2 separate regions of the Homo sapiens genome follow, and region 2 is linked to region 1. The links are contacts of gene promoters, found by promoter capture Hi-C in human tissues and cell types (Jung and others, 2019). All regions are on one chromosome and are shown on one strand. Each heading gives the region's core, a stretch centred on a gene start or on the middle of the fragment in contact. The rest is flanking DNA. Distances are from core to core; before and after follow the strand shown.

The links. The method cuts DNA at HindIII sites, captures the fragments that hold promoters and counts their contacts. A contact is called where the count stands out against the background at its distance.
Region 2: a fragment that was not itself captured here is called in contact with the fragment with the promoter of ALPK2 in region 1 in 1 of the 25 tissues and cell types used here (mesenchymal stem cells).

Annotation. Positions count from the first base shown.
Region 1 is chr18:58,625,412-58,630,348 of GRCh38, forward strand. ALPK2 (alpha kinase 2) reads right to left here and starts at 3,680. Exons shown (of 13, transcript NM_052947.4): 1 at 3,353-3,680. RefSeq lists an enhancer at 3,697-4,239. The HindIII fragment of the contact is 9,768 bases long and covers 1,684-4,937 here.
Region 2 is chr18:58,978,503-58,983,898 of GRCh38, forward strand. ZNF532 (zinc finger protein 532) reads left to right here. Exons shown (of 10, transcript NM_001375912.1): 8 at 553-665; 9 at 2,968-3,115. Among named protein-coding and RNA genes, the nearest start is that of ZNF532, 120 kb to the left of the region's middle. RefSeq lists an enhancer at 5,108-5,396. The HindIII fragment of the contact is 3,204 bases long and covers 1,309-4,512 here.

The DNA of each region.
Region 1 (4,937 bases), core at 2,430-4,929:
TCTTCAGGAACTGCAGGCCGAAGAAATGGCTACAGCAGTGGTTCTCAGAGTGGCCCCTGGGCCACGCCATCAGCATCACCTGGGAACAAGGAAGAAATGCAAATTCTTGGAAACTTCAGAATCAGAAACTCTGGGGATGGAGCCCAGGAACCTTTATTTTAACAAGCTCTTTAGATTCTGTTGCACTTGAAAGTTTAAGAACCGCTGGACTCAGGAAGGTCTTAAACTAGGGGTTGAGGAGCAAATGAGCGTGTTTAAGAGCAGGGGCCTGGTTATCTAAGAGCAGGATTGAAAATCAAGTGAAAATCAAGGTGGGCTGTGCAGCCAGGACATGAGGATTGCAGTGGAAGGGCTGGCCCTTGAGAGGGAGGGTGCAGTGTAACCAGAACTGAACTCTCGGAATTGAGCTTCTCTTCAACTTGCTGCCTGTCTCTTCGAGCTGATGTCTGAAGTCTCCTGATCAGTTTTGTCTATTTGGCCCATGCCAGGTGGGTGTGCATAGGCGGAAATCCCAATAAGGGCTTGAAACATGTTTAAATGTTTTATTTGATGTAGGTCAGGTGTTTATTCTTTCGTTTTCGCCAACCCTAAGATGACGTGATTACGTTCTCCCAAGTTGCTTTACATGTTTGCATTTTCAGTTTTTCTTTTTGGCAGCATTCAACCCAGAGTAACGTATCCTGGGTTCCTTGTGAACCTGTCTGTAACCGAAGCGAAGAATGTATCGAGGTACTCCAATGGGCCTGGGAAAGAGCTGTGGGGTATCTCAGTAAAAACAAGGGGCAACAAGAAAGATGTCTGATAAAGTTCTTGGGAGCTAGCCCACAAGCCCGCTTGTGAATCTCGTCTGCTCCCTCCCATCCCTGCCTGGCCTTTCTCCCTATTCATTGTGTACTTTTATCACTGACCCCGCGCAATTCTAGCCCACGGTGCGATCCCTATCCTGGAAACTACACTTCTTCTGAGTTGGCCCAAAGCTACTGCCCCTGCTCTGCTCCTCCAAAGGCTAGTCCACTTCAAAGAGTTTTCACCTCCACTCCCGCCCCCACCTCTCTCAATGCAAGACTCGACTATAATCTTTGAGGAAAGGCTGGGCGTGTGCCTTCATTTTCATAGTTTTCATCATGATCACAGGCCTTTCATTACTATGGATTCCCAAACACTCATATTTAAATATGGTAATGATATGTATTAAAAAGCATTCCCAGAGGATGTTGATAAATCTCTACTTCTGCTTTTAGATAATAAGCATCAATTATCCATCAACTATTTTTAGTAAAAAAAAATTTTTTCTTATTTATCATAGATACATTCTAAAATATCTTTTTTTAATTTTCAAACACATTGTTTCCAAGTACAGAATTTTTCTCAAAGAATCTAATTGTGTTATGTTGTATTGCACTGATGCAGATAATGTATAGTTTCTATTACTTTATATAGTTTATTTTATGGTAGTATTCTAAAGTTTTAGCAAAAAAAAAAAAGACAGAAGCTTTTAATTAAGGTGAAAAACTAACTTTCATTGAGAAACTATGATTCGACACATACTTTAGGTATATTTATTCATCTAATCCCCCATCAATCCTGTTAAAGTGAATACTGTTAAGATTTTACAGATGAGTAAACTGGGGTTCAAACAGGTTGAAAAGTTATGCTAAAATTAGGAGTCGATTCCAAATCTGACTCCAAAGCCTTTCTCAGGACCTCCCCTGCTTCTCCCACCTCCATCCAGAGTAAGATACTAACTCAACTGCATCGCATCACAGGGGCTGATACCTACACACAAGTGTTCAGGAGGCTGTTAAAAACTCATGAAACTGGAGGAGAAAAAAACTTTGTAGGTAATGACAATAGGAACTCTGCCCTACCTAAAAGCTTCCCAAAATTATGATTAAATGTTTGGTAAAAACATCAAAAAGACAATGTAGGCCAGGCGCGGTGGCTCACGCCTGTAATCCCAAGACTTTGGGAGGCCGAGGCGGGTGGATCACCTGAGGTCAGGAGTTCAAGACCAGCCTGGCCAACATGGTGAAACCCCATCTCAACTAAAAATACAAAAAAAATTAGCTGGGCATGGTGGCAGGCACCCGTAATGCCACCTACTTTGGGAGGCTGAGGCAGGAGAATCGCTTGAACCCAGGGGGCGGAGGTTGCAGTGAGCTGAGACTGAGACATTGTACTCCAGCCTGGGCAACAAGAGCAAAACTCTATCTAAAAACAAAAAACAAACAAACAAAACAAAACAAAAAAAGGACAATGTATATTTGGGAGCTAAAGTTCATTTAGTTTGTTTTAAGTCCTGATTTCCAAGATCTGAACATGGTTATTGGCCATCCATGCTTTTTAATACAGGATTTGTGAAGTTGTTGATTCGGAAGGTAACCCACAACATCCTTGGTTTCAATTCAGAAGCCACACAGCAAAAAACCCCTTCAATTTGTCCTTAGTTGATATAGAGTTATAAAACATATCACATATCTCTGGAATGACCATTCCTGGTTAATTAATCTTTAGAAATAAAGGCTACCTTTACTTAAGGAAAAGGTTGTGGAAAGAAAATAATTAGAGCAGAAGCAGCTCTAAATGCCGTTCTTGCTTTTATCTATTTTTAAATGATTGCCAAATGTCTGTAACTGACACCCTTAATCAAGGCTTTTAAAGTTTAGATGTGTTCATTAAATTGTAATGTGACAGTGGTGGCATTTAATTGATGGATTTTTTTTTGGCTGACTTTTTGCCTTAAATTTTTTTTTAAATCTATTTAACAACTCGATAAATGTTTACATCAGCCATTTTGAAAAGCCTGATAGCTTTTCAGCAAATTGCATTACCTGTTGTCAGACAATATACTCCTGTGTCTACCCAGATAGGAGAGATTTTCAATCATTCAGTTAATTCACAGTAAAAGGAATAACTCTTGACTAAAATACTCAAATATTTCAGACAAAAGTCTCTGGGGCCTGAGTTACCTGGATAGTTGACTTTTTATGTTGCTTTGCAAAACTTTACATATCACTCGTTTGAGTCATTCTGTATATTTTTTCTAACTGTTAAGATAGACATGATGTGAAAGAAACTGTTTTCATTCATTATTGTCAAGCCAAAATAAGCAAATTTAAAAATAGCAATAATTTTCAAAAAGGGTCAAAATGGACTTAAATTACAAGACCATGAGAGTTTGCCCACTTTAAAACCTTATATGCCCAAATATCCCATATAATCCCTATTGGTTTCATCTCATTCTATTTCATCAGGAAACCATCTGCTTTGTTCTTTGTTGCAGAAAATGTAAACAACTATATATTGAAAGCACAGCCATTCCTTATGTAAAAACCAAAGTCTACATACTTACTTTTCAGTACTCTTTGTCCAAGAAATGTTGTAGGAGGGCTGGCTCAGCTGTGGATTCCCCAGGCTGTGTGTGAGGCATTGATTGGGTGTCCCTGTTCCCGGGACAGGGATTCAAAGGAGTTTATAGGGCTCAGGGTCTTCCATGATCAGGTCAAAGCATAGATGGGTCTGCTTCCAGAAAGTTCATCTCTTCCTAAGAGGGGAAATTCCATGCCCGGGGAAGTTCTGGAAGAAGAGCATTTTTTCCCCGCCCTTCAGTGAACTAGGTCATTGCTGAAGCTGGAGAATATATTTTAGCATCCCTGTGATGAAACTTGAGGGCTGTTTCTGCAGTAGGTGCGACACTTGTTGACACGACACGCTGGGGAGGCCCTGGCAAGGGGGCCTGGTGAAATGCAGCCCCAGGGAGCTGATGAAACCCAGACGAGCTGTCACTGGCTGCTGCTCAGGAGACCGAGCAGCTCTTTACAAAGCCCATGCTGGACCCTGGGCTTAGTTGCTCGCTCCTTAGGAAAGGAAAAACTTGCTGCCTGATAAAGGGATTAAGGCCGGAGTAACACAACCAGTTCTCATACCAAGGTTATCAGGCATTTGAAGTACACATAGGAAACCCGTGGAGGGGGTGTTGGGGAGGTGAAAATATGTGTCATATGTTGTTCATTTAGAACAGGCATTATAGCCATCCTCTGAAGTTCTCTGAGAAAGGCAGAAGCCACAGAAGGAAGGCAGGATCCACCCTCCTCACCCTGCTTACCCCCCCTTACCCCTTGTCTGTCTGTCTGTCTCTCTCTCTCTCTCTCTCACACACACACACACACACACACACACACACACCCCTTCCTATTTTGACTACGATAGAAGAGAACAGACAAAGATCAGAAGAAATCCACAGAAGAAATACCACAGGTCCTATTCCTTCAGATTGCCTGGAATGGTTCTTGTTGGGAAAGTAGATTTTGTAATATGGGCAATTCTTTTATTGAAGTTTATCCAAGTCCAAAAACATAGAGAATCCTTTAGCATCATTCTGTAACTACTTAGCCTCTCCCCAAAAATATTTTAATGTATGACACCTGGAAATTGACAGCTTAGACAGAAACCTCTTTTGAGACTCGTGGAGACAGCTCAAATTAGCAGCTCCAGGGGTGACTTTGAAAGGGACATAGCTGTAAATATTCACTCTGTGTAGGGCACTGCAATCCTCAAAAGCAAATTGTTTTTACACAGCACAGAATGTACATCATTATCCCTTGATGGAATGCAACTTTTCACAAGATGAAAACTCATCTAAAACGATAAAATATTAAGAAATGTAGGGGTGATATGTTCTGTTTTTCAGTTTTATCTTCATGTGAGAAAAAAGATATTAAAGCTGAGGCACTGTAAAATAATGACTATCTCCTGGGGAACACATCTGTGAAATGCCACAGAACACAGAAATTACCAACTCTTTGCAAATGGTCGGCTTTATGGAAAGCTGAGGTCTTCACAATGTAAGGTCTTTTCCAGATAAGAAAGAGGAGATAACTTCAAGTTGGGAATGAAGAGAGGAGGAAAGTGTGATGATAAAGAATAAACAAATGCTG
Region 2 (5,396 bases), core at 1,661-4,160, 350 kb after region 1:
TGTGTTGAATCAAAAACCTGTGTTTTTGAGAGAGAATTTTTTTTACCCTTATGATAGTTTAACCCATCCTCCTAAAATTAGCCCCATCATGGTTACCTCAGCCCTGTCCTCATTTTTATTATATATTTTTAAAAAGTTTTTTGGTTTTGTTACTGTATTCCTAAATACAGGTTGAGTATCCCTGAGCTGAAAGTTTGGGAACAGAAGTGTTTCAAATTTTAGATGTTTTTGGATCTTGGAATATTCAAATATACATAATATCTTGGGACTCTCTAATTGTGATATTTATTCTTGTTTCATACATACCTTATATGGATAGCTTGAAGGGACTTTTATAAAATAATTTTAATTTTGTGCATGACACAGTTCTGACTGTGACCCGTCACATGAGGTCAGATATGACATTTTCCATGTGTAGTGTCATGTCAACCCTCAGTTTTGGATTTGGGGACCTGTAATAATGATTTAACTTAAACTATTACAAAAGAGTTCTTAATTGTTTGAGTGCATCTATTTTCATTCCCTTAAGTGAACTTTCTCTCCTTCCTCCAGCAAATGAAGAAACACCCCTGCCGCCAGTGTGACAAGTCTTTCAGCTCGTCCCACAGCCTGTGCCGGCACAACCGGATCAAGCACAAAGGCATCAGGAAAGTGTACGCCTGCTCGTAAGTCCTGGTTTCTAACGGAACGCAGTGAGAGGACTCAGGAGGAACCTCTGGAAGGTTTTTAGTGTAGTACCATTAACTTGCTGTGTGCTCCACAGTTCCTACATTACATTTCTCAATTGTATTATTGTTTTGGCATAGAGTTTTTGGATTGGGTTGTCACACTTAAATATGAAAATAAAAAAAAAAGGAGCATTTTCTTGCATATCCCACATACATTGTGTGTTTTTTTTTTCCCGAGACGGAGTCTCACTCTGTTGCCCAGGCTGGAGTGCAGTGATGCAATTTTGGCTCACTGCAACCTCTGCCTCCCAGGTTCAAGTGATTCTCCTACCTCAACCTCCTGAGTAACTGGGATTACAGGCACATGCCACCACACCCAGCTAATTTTTGTATTTTTAGTAGAGACGGGGTTTCACCGTGTTAGCCAGGCTGGTCTCAAACTCCTGACCTTGGGTGACCCACCTGCTACCTCCCAATGTGCTGGGATTACAGGCATGAGCCCTGGCACCCAGCCTGATCCCTGAGTGTCTTGGGGGAGCGATTGATTGGCAGTACAGGGTCTCTCTGCACATGTCGAGTTGGCCACATTGGCGAGGTGATTTGGCTAGCTTGTTTACTCAGGGCTGGTCACAGATTCAGTCCTCGGCTGGGCCCTTTGCCCCTTGGCTGCAGTCACCACTGAAGGTGGGGCAGCCTGTGACCAAATGCAAGGGACTGGGTGGGCCAACATCAACCCAGACTCCAGTGGACAGTCATAAGCTGCTGCTTCATACGTGAACACCAGAACGTATCTCATCATTAGTGAAAGGCTGTCACTCAGCTGGAATATACCTGGAGTGGGTTGATAAGAAGAAAGCATGTCTCATGAGAGAGAGAGAGACAAAGGACCCTGAGGCTAAAGCACTGAAATGTTACATGGATGTCAGTGCAGGCCAGATGGACCCTATGGATCAGGAGACTTATGAAGGTTGGCTGTCAGATTCGCAGGGGGTTATGATAACCGGGTAGGAATCATCTGATTCAGTGAAATTGAAGCTGTTTAGTGAGATAAGAATGATTATGAATAAAGTATGTGTTGAGACCAAATCAAAAGAATCAGAATTTAGAAGGATGCTCTGGGCCAAGAAGACGATGGGAGATCTGGCCCATAATGCTTCACTGATAGGTTTTGTTTATTTCCCCATGAACTCACTGTAAAGCAGTAAAATGCTGGGATTGTTCTGCTAACTTACGGCCAACAAAAAATTCATCCTCATGGAGAGCCCTCGTCCTTTGGGGGTGGTGCTGGCTCCTGCCACTGCCCTGCAAGTGTCTCTAATGTGAGGTCATCAGGGTTTAGGGCCAATCAGTATGAATTCCTCCGAAGCTATTTTGAAGGCAGATTTGAGACCACAAGAGACTTTTTGTCCTTCCCTCAGTAGCATTCTTGATACCTGGTTTTATAGCATACATAATAACTAGGGCCATTACCTCTTTTTTTTCTTTTTTTGAGACGGAGTTTTGCTTTTGTTACCCAGGCTGGAGTGCAATGGCATGATCTCGGCTCACCCTACCCTCCACCTCCTGGGTTCAACCGATTCTCCTGCCTCAGCCTCCCGAGTAGCTGGGATTACAGGCATGCACCACCATGCCCGGCTAATTTTGTATTTTTAGTAGAGACAGAGTTTCTCCATGTTTGTCAGGCTCATCTCAAACTTCCGACCTCAGGTGATCTGCCTGCCTCGGCCTCCCAAAGTGCTGGGATTACAGGCGTGAACCACTGCACCTGGCCAGCCTGTTTTCTAAACTATCTTTGGCCTGCTTTATTAAAATAAGTTTTTCTTTGAAAAATAATTGACCTATTTTTGATCTGCTTATCATCTACTGAGTGACCATACACACTCGACTGCCATGAGTATAAACATGCATGCTGCTTTTGTGCCTGGAAGAATTTGGCGCTGGACACTCATGTCTTTGTCAAGGCAGAGGACAGGGATAATTAACAGCAGCACAAAGGAGTCAAGGAGGGACCTTATACTAATGTGTTCAGCATGGTGCTCATTCTGAGAGAATACTGAGTCATTGTGAAAACTTCTTTTGAAATGCAATATTTTCCCTTTAAAATTAAAGCCATCTAGACCTGTAAATTAAGGGCCACTCCTAGCAAAATTGCTGATTGCGTGTTGAACCATGGTGTGAACTCAGCTTATTGGACCTGTCTGTGTGAACTGACGGCTAAGGAGGACCTTCGACCGTGAGTTCTTCCACAGGAGCTTATTTTGTCAGCAAGTGCGTTATCTCCTTGCCTTTCACCCCACAGGCACTGCCCAGACTCCAGACGTACCTTTACCAAACGTTTGATGCTGGAGAAGCACGTCCAGCTGATGCATGGCATCAAGGACCCTGACCTGAAAGAAATGACAGATGCCACCAATGAGGAGGAAACAGAAATAAAAGAAGACACTAAGGTCTAACATTGCAGATGTTTGCTTTACAGTGAAATTGTGTTGACTTGCTTTTCCCATTCATTTTTTTCCTTTCAAGTTTTTGTTGCATAGTTACAGTTTTAAAAATTCAGACTGGCTGGGTGCGGTGGCTCATGCCCACCACTTTGGGAGGCCGAGGCGGGTAAATCACGAGTTCAGGAGTTCAAGACCAGCCTGGCCGACATGGTGTAACCTCATCTCTACTAAAAATATAAAAAATTAGCTTGGCGTGGTGGCGGGCTCCTGTAATCCCAGCTACTCAGGAGGCTGAGGCAGGAGAATCGCTTGAACTTGGGAGGTGGAGGTTGCAGTGAGCTGAGATCATGCCACTGCACTCTAGCCCAGGCGACAGTGCGAGACTCTCCCAAAAAAAAAAAAAAAAAAAATCAGACCACACTGAAAGTATAAAATAATGATTAATCTCCCCATAGACCCATTCTGACCTCATCATCAGGAGTTCGAGACCAGCCTGGCCAACATGGTGAAACCCCATCTCTACTAAAAAAATACAATACAAAAATTAGCCAGGCATGATGGCAGGCGCCTTAATCCCAGCTACTTGGGAGGCTGAGGCAGGAGAATCGTTTGAACCCAGGAGGCAGAGGTTGCAGTAAGCCGAGATAAAGCCATTGCACCCAAACCTGGGGGACAAGAGCAGGACTTTTTTTGTTTTTTTGAGAGAAAAGTTTAAAGAAATAGTTTAGGCCGGACACAGTGGCTCATGCCTGTAATCCCAGCACTTTGGGAAGCTGAGGCGGGCAGATCACTTGAGGCTAGGAGTTCGAGACCAGCCTGGCCAACGTGGTGAAACCCCGTCTCTACTAAAAGTACAAAAATTAGCCAGGCGTGGTGGTGCACACCTGTAATCTCCAGCTACTCAGGAGGCTGAGGCAGGAGAATTGCTGGAACCTGGGAAGCAGAGGTTGCAGTGTGCCAAGATCACGCCACTGCACTTTAGTCTAGGCAATAGAACGAGACTCTGTCTCCACCCCCCCAAAAAAAGTTAGCAGATACTTAAAAAGCCCTCCTGTCTTCGGTGCTATGCTAGATCTGGAATGTACCCAGGTAAAAGCTTGTATGTGCTTTCAAGGAGTTAATCATCGAGTAAAACCTCCTCAGAATATAAGTCAGACTGATGTGGCATTAAAATGCAATACTTCAAGTGCTCCTGGTGGTGAGTTAAAGAATATGTGTGAAGCCAAGGCGTGGTGGCTCACACCTGTAATCCCAGCACTTTGGGAGGCCAAGGCAGGCAGTCACGAGGTCAGGAGTTCGAGACCAGCCTGGCCAATATGGTGAAACCCTGTCTCTACTAAAAATACAAAAATTAGCTGGACATCGTGGTGCACACGTATAGTCCCAGCTACTTGGGAGGCTGAGACAGGAGAATCGCTTGAACCCGGGAGGCCGAGGCTGTAGTGAGCCGAGATCATGCCATTGCACTCCAGCCTGGGCAATAGCGCGAGACTCCGTCTTAAAAAAAAAGAAAGTGTGTGCAAAGGTAGCTTCAGGTCATGGCCACGTGTGAAGGTGCACATGAACAGAGCAGAAAAGCTGGGGCACAGAGTGCGGAGAGGAGGGGCACGTTGGCTTGGGGAGGGGATTCAGAGTGGGATTTAGAGCCCTGGAAGCAGACGCAGTAGGGGAAATGGTGTGAAGGTGAGGAGGCAGGAAAGGGTGGGGAAAGCTTCCAGAGGCTCTCAGTCTAAAAGCAAAATCCTGACACTCTCTCCCACAAGGGGCGTTACAGTTCACCTCCTGCAGTCTCCCTGAGCACTCCTTCCTACTGGCTCTAGCCCCTCTTCTGTTGCCCACTCACAGGCCTGTTCCCACCTTGGGCCTTGGCACTCACAGCTTCCTATGCCTGGACTGCTTTCCCGACACTGCGTCAGGTCTCTTTTCAAATGTCACCTGTCACCAGGCTGTCCCTGACCGTACCACATCACCTAGCAGCCACACATATACCCCCCCCTTGCTTCCCATGGCCCTCATCCCACCCTGCTTGGCTGTCCTGGGTCTGACATACTGCATATTTTCTCATTTGTTTCTGTTCATCTAACTCCGCTGCCACAAATTTCAGGAAGCTAGGAGCTCATTTGTCCACTGTTGTGCCCCACTGGCAGAGCAATGCCTGCTAACAGCTACTAGGTTTCTCTGTGGAGTGGAAGAAAGGCATGGGCCTCCGGGTGGGGTGGCAGACACAGCTTTAAAGCCCCTAAATCCCAAAGCGTTCAGCACAAGTTTTCCTGGCAGCTCTAAAGTA